Linked DNA regions of Homo sapiens: region 1 is linked to region 2. Evidence: promoter capture Hi-C in human tissues and cell types (Jung and others, 2019). All regions are on one chromosome and are shown on one strand. The core of a region is centred on a gene start or on the middle of the fragment in contact, and the rest is flanking DNA. Distances in the headings are between cores, read along the strand shown.

Region 1 (6,961 bases), core at 63-2,562, 350 kb before region 2:
GAGGGTCACTTGAGCCTAGGAGTTTAAGACTAGCCTGGGCAACATAGCGAGACTCCATCTCTACAAAAAATTTTAAAATTAGCTGGGTGCAGTGGCATGTGCCTGTGGTCCCAGCTACTTGGGAGGGTTGAGCCCAGGAGGTCCAGGCTACAGTGAGGTGTGATCAAGCCACTGCACTACAGCCTGGCCAATAGAGCAAGATCCTGTCTCCAAAAAAAAAAAAAAAAAAAAAAAAAAAAAAAGAAGAAGAAGAGAAGGAGAAGAAGAAATATTGGAAATATCTTGAACGGGCACAGTGGCTCACGCCTGTAATCCCAATACGTTGGGAGGCCAAAGTGAGAAGATCGCTTGAGCCCAGGAGTTGGAGATCATCCTGTGTAACATAGCAAGACTTGTCTCTACCAATAAATTTTAAAAATTAGCCAGGCATGGTGGCGTATGCCTGTGGTCCCAGCAACTAGAGAGGCTGAGGTGGGAGGATTGCTTGAGCCTAGGAGTTTGAGACTGCAGTGAGTTATGATCGCACCACTGCACTCCAGCCTGGGTGAAAGAGTGAAACCCTGTCTCTAAATAAAAAAATAAAAAAATAAAAAATAGAAGGTTATTGTGGAGAGAGGGGCACCTTGGAAGGTGATGGTGAGGACCTCTTCCCCCACCTCTCTGTATTATCCCCTGATCTAACTCCAGTTGTGGTAGGATCTTTAGGAGGGGAGCGTGTCTCAGAGAAGTTTGGGGACTTTGGGTGTGAGGACTGAGCCCCCATCTCTGCTGAAGTTCAGACGCCAAGACTGGAAGGGGATAGAGTCATCCGGCTTTCCATCACAAGGAGGAATTGTCCGGCCTGGCCTTTGACACATACACCATAGTCCAGTTGTGTGTATATTTGGAGAGAGCCTTTTCAGGGTATAAAGGCATCCAATTAATGGCACAGATGGGTCCCCATTCTTCCTTCACCAACCTCTGGCATCTATCAATCTTCGCTCTTTGGAAGTCCTAGCTTCGATCTCACTCTCCGCTATCTTGCTGCGGCCCCAACCTATTTCTATTCCCTGCAACCCATCCAGACGCTACTATGATCTCCCCAAGCTTCCCTCAATCTGGTCACGCCCCTCCATCCCGGGTTTTTCAGTGTGAAACTCCCTCCTCCGCTTCTTTCCCCGCCAAGCCCCGCCCCATCGTGTCGAGCCCCCCAAGACTCCGCCCAGTTCGCCCTCCTGGCCACCGAGGCAGCCAATAGCTGAGAGCCTGATTTGCAGGGCTGCGCGGGGGAGCGGCGTAGGGCAGGGGGCGGGACCAGGCGACCTCCTAAATCAAAGTTGGGCGGCGAGGACTGGGCGGAGGGGCCGCCGGGTGCCGGGCTGGGGCCGGCGGGGGAGGGGAGGGGATGGGGGGCGGGCGCAGCGGACGGCGGAGCCGGCTGGACACGGACAGCTCCTTGGCTCCCTCCCTCGGCTCATCCCCGCGGCCCCACTTCCCTCCTCCCCGCGCTGCGAGCAGCATCCTCTGCAGACCCTCGGTCCTCGCGCCCGGGGTCGTCCCGCTCCTGCGGCTCAGCGTGGTGGCCTCCCCTCGCCCGCCACCCCGGCAACTTTCTCTGCCCGCTCCCGCGGGTTGGGGGCTGCCGTGCCGGGGGCTAACTGGGGGCAGCCTCTGGAGAACGGCTTCAGAGTCCCGGAGACGCCCGCCACCCGCAGCCTGCCCGCGGTGGGCCTGCCGTCGGATCTCGGCACCCTCTCCTCCCCTCTCCCCGAACCATGACCGAGATGAGCGAGAAGGAGAACGAACCGGATGACGCGGCCACCCACAGCCCCCCAGGGACCGTCTCCGCCCTCCAGGAAACCAAGGTAACTTGGGGGGCGCAAGGCCTGTCCGCGCCCCGGGCCCGGGCGCCCTCTTCCCGGCGGGGTCCTCCTGTGGGCCCGGGCGTCCTAGGGTCGCGGTCGCGAGGCCCGCGTGACCACTGAGGCTCCGCGCCGCTCCCGGGGGTAGGAGTGGGTTGGCGACGAGGGGCCACAAGGAGCCCCCGATCACACCGGCACCGCACGCCCGCGCGCGCCATCGCGACCTTCTGGGGAGGCGGCCACTGGTCTTCGTTGGAGAGATGGGCGCAGCGAGGCCGGAGGGCGCGCGTGGAGCGGTGCGGGCGGGGTACGCGCCCGGCTGTGCGTGCGAGGCGCACCCTCCAGCGGCCGCCGGGTCCCAGTCCCGGGCTCAGTCCGCGCCTCTATCCTCGCTCGTGTCTCTGAATTTGTCTCTACAACCTGCGTGTCTGTGTCTTGGTGTCTCTGTGTGCGTCTCTCCCCGTCTCTCCCGGCGTCTCCGGGTGTTTATCTCCGCGTCTCAGGGCGTCTCTCCCTGCCCCTCCGCAGTCCTGCATTCCCCGCTCCTAGCCCTGTTGGGCTCGGGGACGCGAGGCCGCGGCCGGGGGTGCGCAGCTGCGGAGTCCGCGAGGGGGCCTGCAGCAGCGCCGGCCGTCGGTCACGGGCGAGGACGGGGGCCTGCGGTTGTGGCTCCAGACCAGAAAGACAGGCAGCCCCGCGCCCCACCACGGGAGCGGGACCAGAGGAGGGGGAGCGGGTAGAAGCAAAAAGAGAAGTCATCGTAATTAATGAATGTCATCATTAACCCTAATTATGGATGATTGTTACTCCTGAGGGAGTCACCATGAATAAATTACTCCCCGCGAAGGCAGGCGGAGCCCAGACTCCTGGCGCTGAAAGGGGTGTGGGGAGGCCGCCGCTCACACTCAGCACTCCCCCGACCTCTAATCCGTCTGCTCCCTTCCCAAGTTCTAGGTGCTGGCGACTGGCCCGCGAGAAGTTCTGTTTCTGCGGGATCAACCTGAGCGGGCCTGGGGTTGGGATAGAAAGGGCTGTGCCAAGGGCGCGCCCTGCCACCTCCCAGACTTCAGGCCAAGACCTCCTCCCTCCCCCTTCACCCGGTATTTTGTTCCCATCCTGCTCCTGTTCTCCAGAGGCGAAAGGGGACAGTGAGGACCAGAAATGATGGGAGCCTGGGCTCCGGAGGCGTCCTGGGTTCGCTAGGCTTCTTTCCACTGTCCCCCTTCCTCCTTCTTCCATCTTGACCATCCCGCAGGAGCTGAGGTTAATTCAAGGTCAAGGTCATCAAGGGAGTGACCGGAGGAGGAGGCCGTAGGGTCAGGGTGGAGTCTGGCAGAGGCACCCCAGGGAGCCCCCATCCTGCACCAGGGGACCCAGCAGGTCTCCACATTCAAGTCTTCACATGCACACCTGACTCTCTCTTGCCCCCTTCTAAAAATGAGACTCTGGTCTGTGAGGCCAGAGCTGACTCCCCTTTAGAGAGCCAAGTCTCAGTCTCTCCTGGGAAAGGACTAAGATGTTTGGGTGGGAGGATATTGCTTGGAATATTTGTGACAACTTCTGTCAAGCAGAAGGTCTAGGAGCTGAACCTCCCCTGAGTTCCAATGCCCCTGATTTCGGTTGCCCTCTAGTCACCTGGGTAGACATACACAGTCCCCCTGCTTGCCTCCAGGGGCTTGGGGGCCTCCCAGGCCCTGCCCTGTTTCCCACACCAAGGCCTGTCCTCTCCAGCCTCCTCCTATGTGGGAGTGCTGGAAGGCGGGCAGGAGTGTGGGGTAGTGCTGCCTCAGTACTCCAGCAAGCTGCCTGCTCAGCTGTGTGGGGAGGGAAGGTCAAGGGCCACAGGTCTGTACCTCTCCCTCTTCCCAGGCCAGGGACCCTCCAATGTTGTCACCTCTGGGTCTGAGCTTGGAGATTCAAGGAGTAGGGGAGGGGAGGGGTTACACCCCTGATCCGGCCCTTCTGTGTCAGGCCAGCTGGAGCCCCGGCCCTCCGCCCCTCCCCTATACATCACTCTTGTGAAGGATTCTGCACTAACACAGACTGGGCTGTGGGTTGGGTCGGGGGTATTCAGCAGGGCAGAGGTGGGCAGAGAGAGAACTCAGGACCCCTGCTAGCCTCCTTCCATCCTGCACCTCAACCTGGCCCAAAGAAGCTCCTGTCTCCAGACTGTGGGTGGAGATGGAAGAGTACAGTTGGGTGCCGCCCACCAAGCTCAGTGTGAGGCAGGTACAACAGAGGGGGCCAATGCCCTTCAGGCAGTGATGCCAACATTCCAGGCTTATTCATCAGTGTTGGTGCCCCCTGGGAATCACTGGCCAGCCTCCTGCTTGCCCCCAGGCTGAATCAGCCCTGCACCCAAGCCACCCAGCAACCTTCCTAGCGAGTCCTCCTCCTCTCTTGGTCTCCTTCCCTTCTTATCACATAAGGCCTGCCCATCACCCTTTGTTGCCACCCCTGGGAGGACCACCCCATGCCATCTCTGCTGTGAGTCAGCTTGTGCCACGTCTGCCACCACCCACTGCCAGATGCCTCATGCCCTTTCAGGAGACGCCGTGGGGAATTGAGGAAATAAGGGGCCGTCCAGGATATGGGGAGGTGGGGAGGAAACAGGCAGGCCAGGCCCTGTCTCTGGGAGGGGATTCAGAAGAACAGACTTTGTGGTCCAGGCTCCTAGCTGGACAAACTCTGGATGCGTTGGGAGGGAAGAGTGACCAGGCAGGCCCACTTGCCAAGGTACATGGCAGCTTCTCCCCATGCCAGAGAATGGGTCCCAGGGAAGTGAGGGCACCAAAAGTATAGTGGGGAGAAGAGATGGGCAAAGGTCCTCTCCAGGAATGAGGAGCCCCAGGAGCCGGAATACCTGGCCTGGCTGAGCCAAAATGTGGTTTGGGTAGCCAAGCCCGATGTCTCTGAAGTGGTCAGGCATCAAGTCATTTGGCAGAGATGCCCCAACCCAGACCTGTAGCCACAGTCTGATCTCTGCCAGCCACCCCAGGTGGCATGTCATTCCTTCTCGCTTCTCCACCCCCCTGGGATCTGGGGCCCACAGCCAAGCCAGGGAGTCGGCCGGCAGAGTCGGGGCTGCCCTGGTACCCGGGAACATTCTGTTCCAGAGGCCTCCGGTACCTAGCAGAGGTGGCTCTTGGCACTGAGACCAAGGGGTACCAGGAAAGGACACAGCCTGGAGGGTAGGGAGACTTGGAACCTCCTCCTATGAGGATTACTATGGAAACAAGGGCCTGGGGATGGGGGGAACATGACTGATGGTGTCTTCAAATATTTGAAGGGCTGAAGTGTATGAGAGGGAGTAGCCCTTTCTGGAGCCAAGGGAGGAAGGAGGGCTGATAGGCGAAAATCCCAGGGAGGCAGGTTTCAGCTCTATATGGGGAAGCACTTTGCAGCCATTGGAGCTGCCCAAAGATGGAATGACTGTCCCAAGAGACTGCTTGCTTCCCATCACAAGAGGTGACCAACTCTTGAGACGGGATGTGGCCAGGCCATCGCAGGGTGATGAGTTGGGGACTGCTCTAGGTGGCCAGTCTTCCAGGTCCCTTCTCACCCTAAACTCTCTGATTGACCTTGTGGACAAGCCCCTGGCCCAGCTGAGAGGTGAGGGTGATGGCCCAGGCAGGGCCCAGCTGAGAGGCGAGGGTGAGGCCCAGGCAGGGCCCAGCTGAGAGGCGAGGGTGAGGCCCATGCAGGGCTCAGCACAGCAGGATGCTCCTGGTGCTTTGGGCTCAGCAGCCGAAGCCGCTGGTTCAAGTCCTGGCTCTGCTGTTTACCAGCTGAGGACTCCTGGGTAAGTGATTTAACCCTTATAAGCCTCAGTTCCTCATCTGAAAAGTGGGACAGTAATTATCACTACTTCCAAGGGCAGCATCAGGATTAATGAGATGCTGCATATAAAGTGCTAGCTCAATTCCAATGTTCTGACCATGACAGCCCCTCAGAGATGTAAGTTTCTGGGGATATTTGGACCTAGAGCCTTTTATTGGTTAGAGAGTGTCCAGTCTTGGCCAGGCGCGGTGGCTGACGCCTGTAATCCCAGCACTTTGGGAGGCCAAGGTGGGCGGATCATGAGGTCAGGAGTTCGAGAGCAGCCTAGCCAATACGGTGAAACCCCATCTCTACTAAAAAAAAATACAAAAAATTAGCCAGGTGTGGTGACAGGCGCCTGTAATCCCATCTACTTGGGAGGCTGAGGCAGGAGAATCGCTTGAACCTGGGAGGTGGAGGTTACAGTGAGCTGAGACCGTGCCACTGCACTCCAGCCTGGGCAACAAAGCAAGACTCCGTCTCAAAAAAATAAAAACAAGAGGGCAGGCATGGTGGCTCACGCCTGTAATCCTAGCACTTTGGGAGGCCGAAACAGGCGGATCACGAGGTCAGGAGATCGAGACCATCCTGCCTAACACGGTGAAACCCCGTCTCTACTAAAAATACAAAAAATTAGCCAGGCGTGGTGGCGGGCGCCTGTAGTCCTAGCTACTCGGGAGGCTGAGGCAGGAGAATGGCGTGTACCCGGGAGGCGGAGCTTGCAGTGAGCCAAGATTGCACCACTGCACTCCAGCCTGGGCGACAGAGTGAAACTCCGTCTCAAAATAAATAAATAAATAAGTAAAATAAAAAATAAAAATGATAGGCCGGGTGCAGTGGCTCACGCCTGTAATCCCAACACTTTGGGAGGCCGAGGCGGGCAAATCACGAGGTCAGGAGATCAAGACCATCATGGCTAACACAGTGAAACCCCGCCTCTATTAAAAATACAAAATTAGCCGGGCATGGTGGCAGGAGCCTGTAGTCCCAGCTACTTGGGAGGCTGAGGCAGGAGAATCACTTGAACCCAGGAGGTGGAGGTTGCAGTGAGCTGAGATCGTGCCACTGCACTCCAGCCTGGGTGACAGAGTGAGACTCCATCAAAAAAAAAAAAGAGTATCTAGGCTTCCCTCTTGGATGTGGGGAAACTGAGGCTCAGAGAGAAGAAGTGGGGTGATTTGCCTTCAGGCAGTAGGTTTAGTTTTGCCCCCAGCCCCAGCACATCCTCCGGCGACCCTGTGTGCTCCATGCCTGAGGTCCCTGGACAGAACAGTGGACGGTTCACCTGCCTCTTGGGGCCC
Region 2 (7,458 bases), core at 4,157-6,656:
GCAAAGTGCCAGAAGAAACCACGTGCCCCTACGGGTCCTGCACTGGGCTTGGCCCAGCATGGAGCACGTGATGCTTCAGAGAAGGAAGCCAGGCCTGTGGTCCACAAAGCAAGACCAGAACAGAAATGGCAGAAAGCTGTACCCTGGTAAACCCAGGATTCAGGAACCTGAATGTCACTCAAGGATAAGACCAGAGGCAGGAAGAAAACACGAGGAGGCTGGGCTAAAGCAGGTAGATCACCTGAGGCCAAGAGTATGACAAGCCCTCCTCTCTACAAAAAACTTAAAAATTAGCATGGCGCCACATGCCTGTGGTCCCAGCTACTAGGGAGGCTGAGGCAGGAGGATCACTTAAACCCAGGAGGTGGAGGCTGCAGTGAGCCATGATCACTCCACTGCACTCCAGCCTGGGTGACTGAGCAGGACGAAGTTTTTTTGGAGACCTTGTCTCCAAAAAACCAAAGCAAAATAAAAACAAAAAAAGTAAGAAAGCAGGAGGGAATGACAGCAAACACTCGGCCTAGCGTCTGGCACATAGCAAGAGCTCAATAAATCCTCTTTGGTCTAGGGTCCAACATCCCTGGGCAGGAATTTTTTTTTATCTTTAGTTTGTTTGTTTGTTTGTTTTGAGATGGAGTCTCGCTCTGTCGCTCAGACTGAAGTGCAGAGGCAATCTTGGCTCACTGCAGCCCTGGCCTCCCAGGTTCAAGCAATTCTCCTGCCTCAGCCTCCTGAGTAGCTGGGATTATAGGTGCCCACCACCACATCTGGCTAATGTTTGTATTTTTAGTAGAGACGAGTTTCACCATGTTGGCCAGGCTGATAGAACTCCTGACCTTAAGTGATCCACCTGCTTCAGCCTCCCAAAGTGCTGGGATTACAGGCGTGAGCCACTATGCCAGGCCTCCTGGGCAGGAATTTTTAACCATGGGGAAACCAAGGCTCAGACACGTCCAGAGAGCACTCCTTGCAAGCGGGCGCCACACCTGGTTCATCCCAGAATCCCCACGGGTAACTTCTTGGCCCAGTGGATGCAGGGGAGGGAGAATGACTGCCTTGGGCGAGGAGGTGCTACTACAGCTAAAGTGAAACACAGCTGGGTCACAAAGCCCCCAGGTCTCTCTCACTAGGCTCCTTCCCAGGAAACATCCCAACTGGGCCAAAGGTCAATGAGGCATGGCAGAGGCTAGGGCTACAAAAGCTGGAGGAAACATGGAGAGGCCAACCTGCTTCTTTTGGCTGGAGGCCAGGAGGGAGACAGGGGAACCTCTGCCTCTGCAAGTTGGAAGCATCACCCAGAGAAGAAACCTTGATCTGCCTCTTCTGGCTCCCCCAGTCCCTGCAGGAGCCCTCCACCCAACCTTGTGGCAGCTTCCCAAGAAGACAGTAAAAACAGTAAGCTGGAACTTTGGATGAGGCTGATAAAACGCAGAGAAAACAAGGACAAGCCTCTGATTTTTCTCCAGCTCCCAGTGCTCACTGAATTCTAGGCTGCTTGAGTCACTGGGCTCCAAGGCTCGGTCAGACTTCTGCGTGCTGGGGCGGAGGCTCAGAATCTAGCCTGAGGTGGTCCAGCAACGGAGGGGTTAACTGCCCTGGCTTCTCTGAACCCCACCCCACTACCCAATGGAGGGAGGAAGTGGCAGAGAACCAGGGCTTGTGTGAGCCCTTAAGAATTCGAAGAATGTCCCATTTCCCTTGTGGGGGTGGGAGGGGTTGGTAGGGGGAAGAGGAACAGTAGAAATTAATAGAAGAGAAGGGGCAGCTGAAGGAGGGGCCAGGACAGAGCTGCAACCCTTCCTTTACCCAGATAACCTGCCCAGTGCCCTCCTTCTTCCAGAAGGGACAACTTCATGTTGCTTCTTGGGCTTGAGATTTTTATCAGGAATCTGTTTTCCCAGCACCTGGTGCAGGTTAGTATGTATTATAGCAGCAGGCAGGCAATAAATGTCTGCTGAATGAGCGAGCCCCTAAAAAGATGAAAGAGTGGTCTTAGCCAGGGAACGGGAGGGGGTAAGGAAGCAAGGAAGGTTTGGGGTAAGGTTAGGGGTAAGGCTGGAGGTTTAAGCCCCCTTTTTAGACAAGTCCCAAATTTTTTTTTCCCTGGGTGAACTTCAGCTGCAAAGAGCCTCCTGACTGAGAATTAAGAGAAAAAAAAAAAAAACTGGACTCAAGTCAGATCCTAAATTCATGTGAACACTGAAATTACCATTACTTGAGTTGGTTGAAGTTAAAAAAAAAAAAGTTAAAATTAAAAAAAAAATCGAATTAAGGCTGGGCGAGGTGGCTTATACCTGTAATCCCAGCACTTTGGGAGGCTGAGGCGGTGCATCACTTGAGGTCAGGAGTTCGAGACCAGCCTGGCCAACACGGTGAAACCCCGGTCTCTACTAAAAAATACAAAAATTAGCTGGGCATGGTAGCATGCATCTGTAATCCCAGCTACTCAGGAGGCTTAGGTACAAGAATCGCTTGAATCCAAGAGGCGGAGGTTGCAGTGAGCCAAGATCGCGCCACTGCACTCCAACCTGGGTGATGAGTCCTCTGACTCAAAAAAAAAAAAAAAAGCAAATTAAAAGAAAAAGAAATTATCATTACATCATTACTTATAAGTGACTTGACCTTCCAAAGCCTCCACCTCGCAGGTGGAGGCGGCTGTGAGGCCCCAACACTGAGTTTGTACTTGCTACTCACAAGGTCAATTGGAAGATGGAAAATTGCTGTACTTTCTGGGATTGCATGGGATGGGATGGGATGGGATGGGAGGGGAGGTATTCCTCCAGGCTCTGGGATGGGGGACCCCACCTCTATACTCCCTCCCTACCGTCAGCTGCTGCAGGTCCCAGTGCAGAAGGAACAGAGCTGCACTATACTCAAGATGACTATACTCAAAAGAAACAGTCTCCACAGCCTCCCTCACCAGGCAGGGAAGAGATCTATCTGGCCCAGGCAACACCCTTTATGCACCCCTGCCCATTCTCAAAAAATGAACACCAAAAGGGCTGGCATGAGGCTTCCAGAGAGTTTTCTTGAAGGAACCACTGGAGGAAGGAGCCCCCAAAGCCTAGAAGTACCCAGGTGAGAGAAGGAAACTGTCGATTTTGAGGAGAGAAATAAGGGAAGGTAAACAGAACAAAGTCCTCAACCCCAAATACAACAGACACGTCACTCATTCTTGAAAGACCACGAGGAAAGCCCCCTCTTTTGTAGCAGGGGACAGTGGAAAGAAACGTGCTCGCCTTACTGCCCGAAATTGGGTTAGAGCCTGTCTTGCCCTAGCCATCCCACCTTGAGAGTCTCTTCCCTTCCCTAAGCCCCAGTTTCCTCATCTGTACTTTAAATGCACTTTAAATGGGGGATAAAAGCACTTTAAATGGGGATAAAAAGTGCTTGCTTCATTCAGCTGTTGTGAGGACAAACTGTGATGTTCAAGTAGGGGATGGAAGTGTTCGCCAATGTCACCTTGCGGTTATTGGAAGGAAAGGAAGAACTCACTCGGGGAGGGAGCCAAGGTGCCCACCCAGCCCCCTGCCCAGAACAGGACTCACGCGTTGCAGTAGGGCTTCTTCTCGTAGCCCTTGTAGTTCTTCATGTTCAGTGTCATCTTGCAGGTCTCGCAATGGAAGCATGCTTTATGCCAGAACTGGGGATGGAGACAGGAGGACATACATCAGATACCAGGACTTCTGAAAAAGGGGCTCAGGCCCTAGGAAGGGGCACTCAGGAGCTGCTGGGACTGTCCTAGGCCCATGGCTGTGGGGAGAACATGGAATCATCCCAGGTGAGCTGGGGGCATTTCAGGTCACAGGCTTTGGCACTCCCCTCCCCTCTCTCCTTCCTCATCCTCCACCAATGGGCCATTTGAACCCAGGAGGAAGAGACAGGCAGGCATGAAGGACAGGGGGGAAGAGCCCAGTTATAGCAGTGGCAGCAGCCCCCAAGTCAGCTCCACCCTCCCCAGGGAACCCCTCCTGCCCAGAGCTGGCGAGGCCTCATTGCTTATGCAAAGCTGCGCTGGGTTGCTAGGGAGCAGCCGCTGAACATGAAGGAGCAGCTCCTCTGGTGGCACCAAGGCCTCAGAAGAGGAAGGCCCAGCCCCCACACACCCAGGCCCAGAACCCAGGTGCTCCTAGCTCCTGTACCAGGGCCCAGCACACCCACCAGCCCCACATGAGCCCCAGGTGGTGCTACAGCTCCGATACCTCCCACTTCCTGTGGGATGCCTGGCCAGAGGAGTGGGCTGGGTGTCCCAGGCTCTGTCAACACAACACATCCTTTCTACCCTTCCCTCATCCTCTCCCACCCCAGGAGGAGGGCAGGAGAGCACCCGGCAGCGGGTCTCCCACTGAGGCACTGAAGGGCTCTACTTCAAAGCCTTGAAGGTGGACACCCCTATAGTGGACATCAAAGCTCTACCCCACTAACTGTATGGCCTTGGGCGGGGCCCTGCACCTCAGAGGAGCCCACTTCCTGGTGTGTACAATGGATGTAATAACACCTGGCCCTCCTGGGATTGTCCAGGACTGAGGAGAAATCACCTTCAAAGCCCTCAGCACAGCACTTGGCACCTCTGAGCACTCAGATGTCAGGTGCTGGGCACAGCAGGTGTGAACCTTAGCCGAGGGGGTCAGGGCTCACACTGGAGATTGTGTGTGTTGGGGTGCAGAGGGGCTTCACTGTGCCAACCACAGCTCCAATCCATTCATGCGTGTGAGAATGTGGGACACGGCCGGGCACGGTGGCTCACGCCTGTAATCCCGCACTTTGGGAGGCCGAGGCGGGCGGATCATGAGGTCAAGAGATCGAGACCATCCTGGCTAACATGGTGAAACCCCATCTCTACTAAAAAGACAAAAAAATTAGCCAGGCGTGGTGGCGGGTGCCTGTAGTCCCAGCTACTTGGGAGGCTGAGGCAGGAGAATGGCGTGAACCCAGGCCACTGCACTCCAGTCTGGGTGACAGAGCAAGACTCCGTCTCAAAAAAAAAAAAGAGAATGTGGGACACAGGGCCCATCCAGGGTGGCCGACGGAGGGAAGAGAGTGATGACAGAAAGAGAACAGATCTAGCCGGGAGCGGTGGCTCACGCCTATAATCCGAGCACTTCGGGAGGCTGTGGCAGGCGGATTACTGGAGGTTGGGAGTTCAAGACCAGCCTGGCCAACATGGTGAAACCCCGTATCTACTAAAAATACAAAAAAATTAGCCGGGTGCAGTGACGGCGTGCCTGTAATCCCAGCTACTCGGGAGGCTGAGGCAGGAGAATCGCTTGAACCCAGGAGGCAGAGATTGCGGTGAGCTGAGATCATGCCACTGCACTCCAGCCTGGGGTATAGAGCGAGACTTAATCTCAAAAATAAATAAATAAATAAATAAATAAATAAATAGGCCGGGTATGGTGGCGCATGCCTGTAATTCCAGCTACTTGGGAGGCTGAGGCAAAAGAATCACTTAAACCCAGGAGGTGGAGGTTGCAGTGAGCCAAGATTGTGCCACTGCACTCCAGCCTGGGTGACAGAGCAAGACTCTGTCTCAAAAAAAAAAAAAAAAAAAAGAGAAACGATCTAACAGGCTCCACGTGGCAGCCTGGAGGGGTCTTTGTGGAACCCCTGAGAAGTATTGATGCTTAGGCAAACCCATGACAACAGGATCTAAATTCACCCCCAGAAGCCCAGGATGATGTGCTGGATCACCACCAAACAGGGGTCCACTGCCAGGACCCCAGAATAATCCAGGCCACCTGAGTGACCTGGCTGGCCTGTCCCTGCCCCATTTCCCAGTAGTCAAGGGAGACATTCCCCATTCCAAAAGAAGGAGGCCAGGAGGCAGGCCCAGGGGGACTTTTGAAGGAGCCCAGCCACAGAGCTGGTTCTTGGCCATTTGTCAAGGAATTCCCCCAAGGCGATGCTTTTCAAAATGTTGTCTCCAAACCCCCGGAGGGAGAGGTGCTTCTGAGACACTGGGAGGAGGGGATAGCAGAAAGAAGGCTGAGAATCTGGGATTCAACCTCCCTACCATGGCCCACTTCAACCAGAGACCCCCAGGGTAATTTCAGGGGGAAATCACCTTCTAATAGGGTACTGGTTCCCTATCAAGAAGACCCAAAGGAAAAACCTAATGGTGGAATATTAAACAGAATGCTAGGAGAACCACTCTTGGGGAGGACGGCCAGCCGGAAGTCTGGAAGCAAAGAAGTGGCGGGTCTAAGCTTGGCCCCCTCCCCAACCTGGGCCTATCCCAGTGACCCAGGGCCCCCAAACTCCTATGAGGCAACTTAAAGACTCCTTCTGGTGCATAACCCAATAGACAGAACCCACCGGGACACTAAGACAGACTGGTCCCTGCCCCCACAGGCCCCTGAAGTGGTGCATACCCCAACACACAGAACCCACCAGGGACACTAAGACAGGCTGGTCCCTGCCCCCACAGGCCCCTGAAGTGACAGCCCCACTCCCTCCCCGAGTAACTGGGAGGCATTGGCAGGGTGCCCCAGCCTGGTCACCACCCAGTCTGCTGGCCTCTGCCTACTTAGCTGCACAGGCCCCTGCCTAGGCCCCTGCCTGGGCCCCTGCCTCCCCCTACCCCCACAGGGGCCTGCCAGGAAAAACATTCTCCAGAATCCAGACCATGACCCACTTTCTCACACACACACACACACACACACACACACACACGAAGGGCTACACACTGTCCTAGGACCACGGACCTCCAAGGCTGCCTCCTGATTGACGTTGGGGAGACAAAGGGAGAGAGACCCCTACTCCAGATGGCCAGGCCTGCACCCGGAGCCAAGCCCCTTGGAGAAGGAGGGTGGGGTGTACTGAGCAGGCAGGGGGCACAGGGCCAACACTGGACCCAGTGGTTCCAAAGACCCCTCCAGGCTGCCACGCGGAGGAAGCAGAGCCCCTCTTCTAGGGGATGGCACCTATTTCTATCAGTAGCTCCTTCCCACCTCCCTCACAGGCCCCACACTCTCATCCAGACACCCAAGGGTGGGGCAGAGGAGGGTGGTCGCCTGTCCCCCTGCAGGGGGCTCTGAGCAGAAACATGGAAACCAGTTACTATGAAGCACAAGTGTCAAGTGGAGCTGCAGCCACTGTCTCCCAGAGTGCTGGAAGGTCAGGAGAGGAGGCCGTTCCACCCCTAATGCTTGGCACCTCCAGCAGCTTCAGGCGACTCCCCTACCCTCTCTGGAGGAAGGCCCCAAGGTTCAAGAAAACCCACCAGCTCCTTCCACTGTGTCCTTTTTGGGGTAGGAAAATTGTGGGGAGGGGAGGCAGAAAATGGCCAGTCCCTCCACAACCGCTGTGAGCCAAGCCTGGACCCTAAGATGAAAGAACTCCTGCCTTGTCTCAATGGGGTCTGGGGAAGGACACTGTCAGGGAAATATGTCCAGAGGACCCCACAGTGACCCCGTCTGCCTCTGCCCTGCCCCATGGGCTCTGTCCCAGAGCAAGAGC

Evidence for each region. Contacts are between HindIII fragments. The study calls those that stand out against the background at their distance.
Region 1: a contact is called between the fragment with the promoter of STAC2 here and a fragment that was not itself captured in region 2, in 1 of the 25 tissues and cell types used here (spleen).

What each region holds. Positions count from the first base shown.
Region 1 is chr17:39,220,296-39,227,256 of GRCh38, reverse strand. It overlaps STAC2 (SH3 and cysteine rich domain 2), which reads left to right and starts at 1,312. Exons shown (of 11, transcript NM_198993.5): 1 at 1,312-1,844. The coding sequence starts at 1,755. RefSeq lists an enhancer at 1,554-2,054 and a silencer at 3,717-3,886. The HindIII fragment of the contact is 22,351 bases long and covers 1-6,961 here.
Region 2 is chr17:38,874,271-38,881,728 of GRCh38, reverse strand. It overlaps LASP1 (LIM and SH3 protein 1), which reads right to left. Exons shown (of 7, transcript NM_006148.4): 2 at 3,549-3,643. Among named protein-coding and RNA genes, the nearest start is that of LASP1, 7.9 kb to the right of the region's middle. RefSeq lists enhancers at 1-53, 1,221-1,803 and a silencer at 3,895-3,974. The HindIII fragment of the contact is 5,439 bases long and covers 2,687-7,458 here.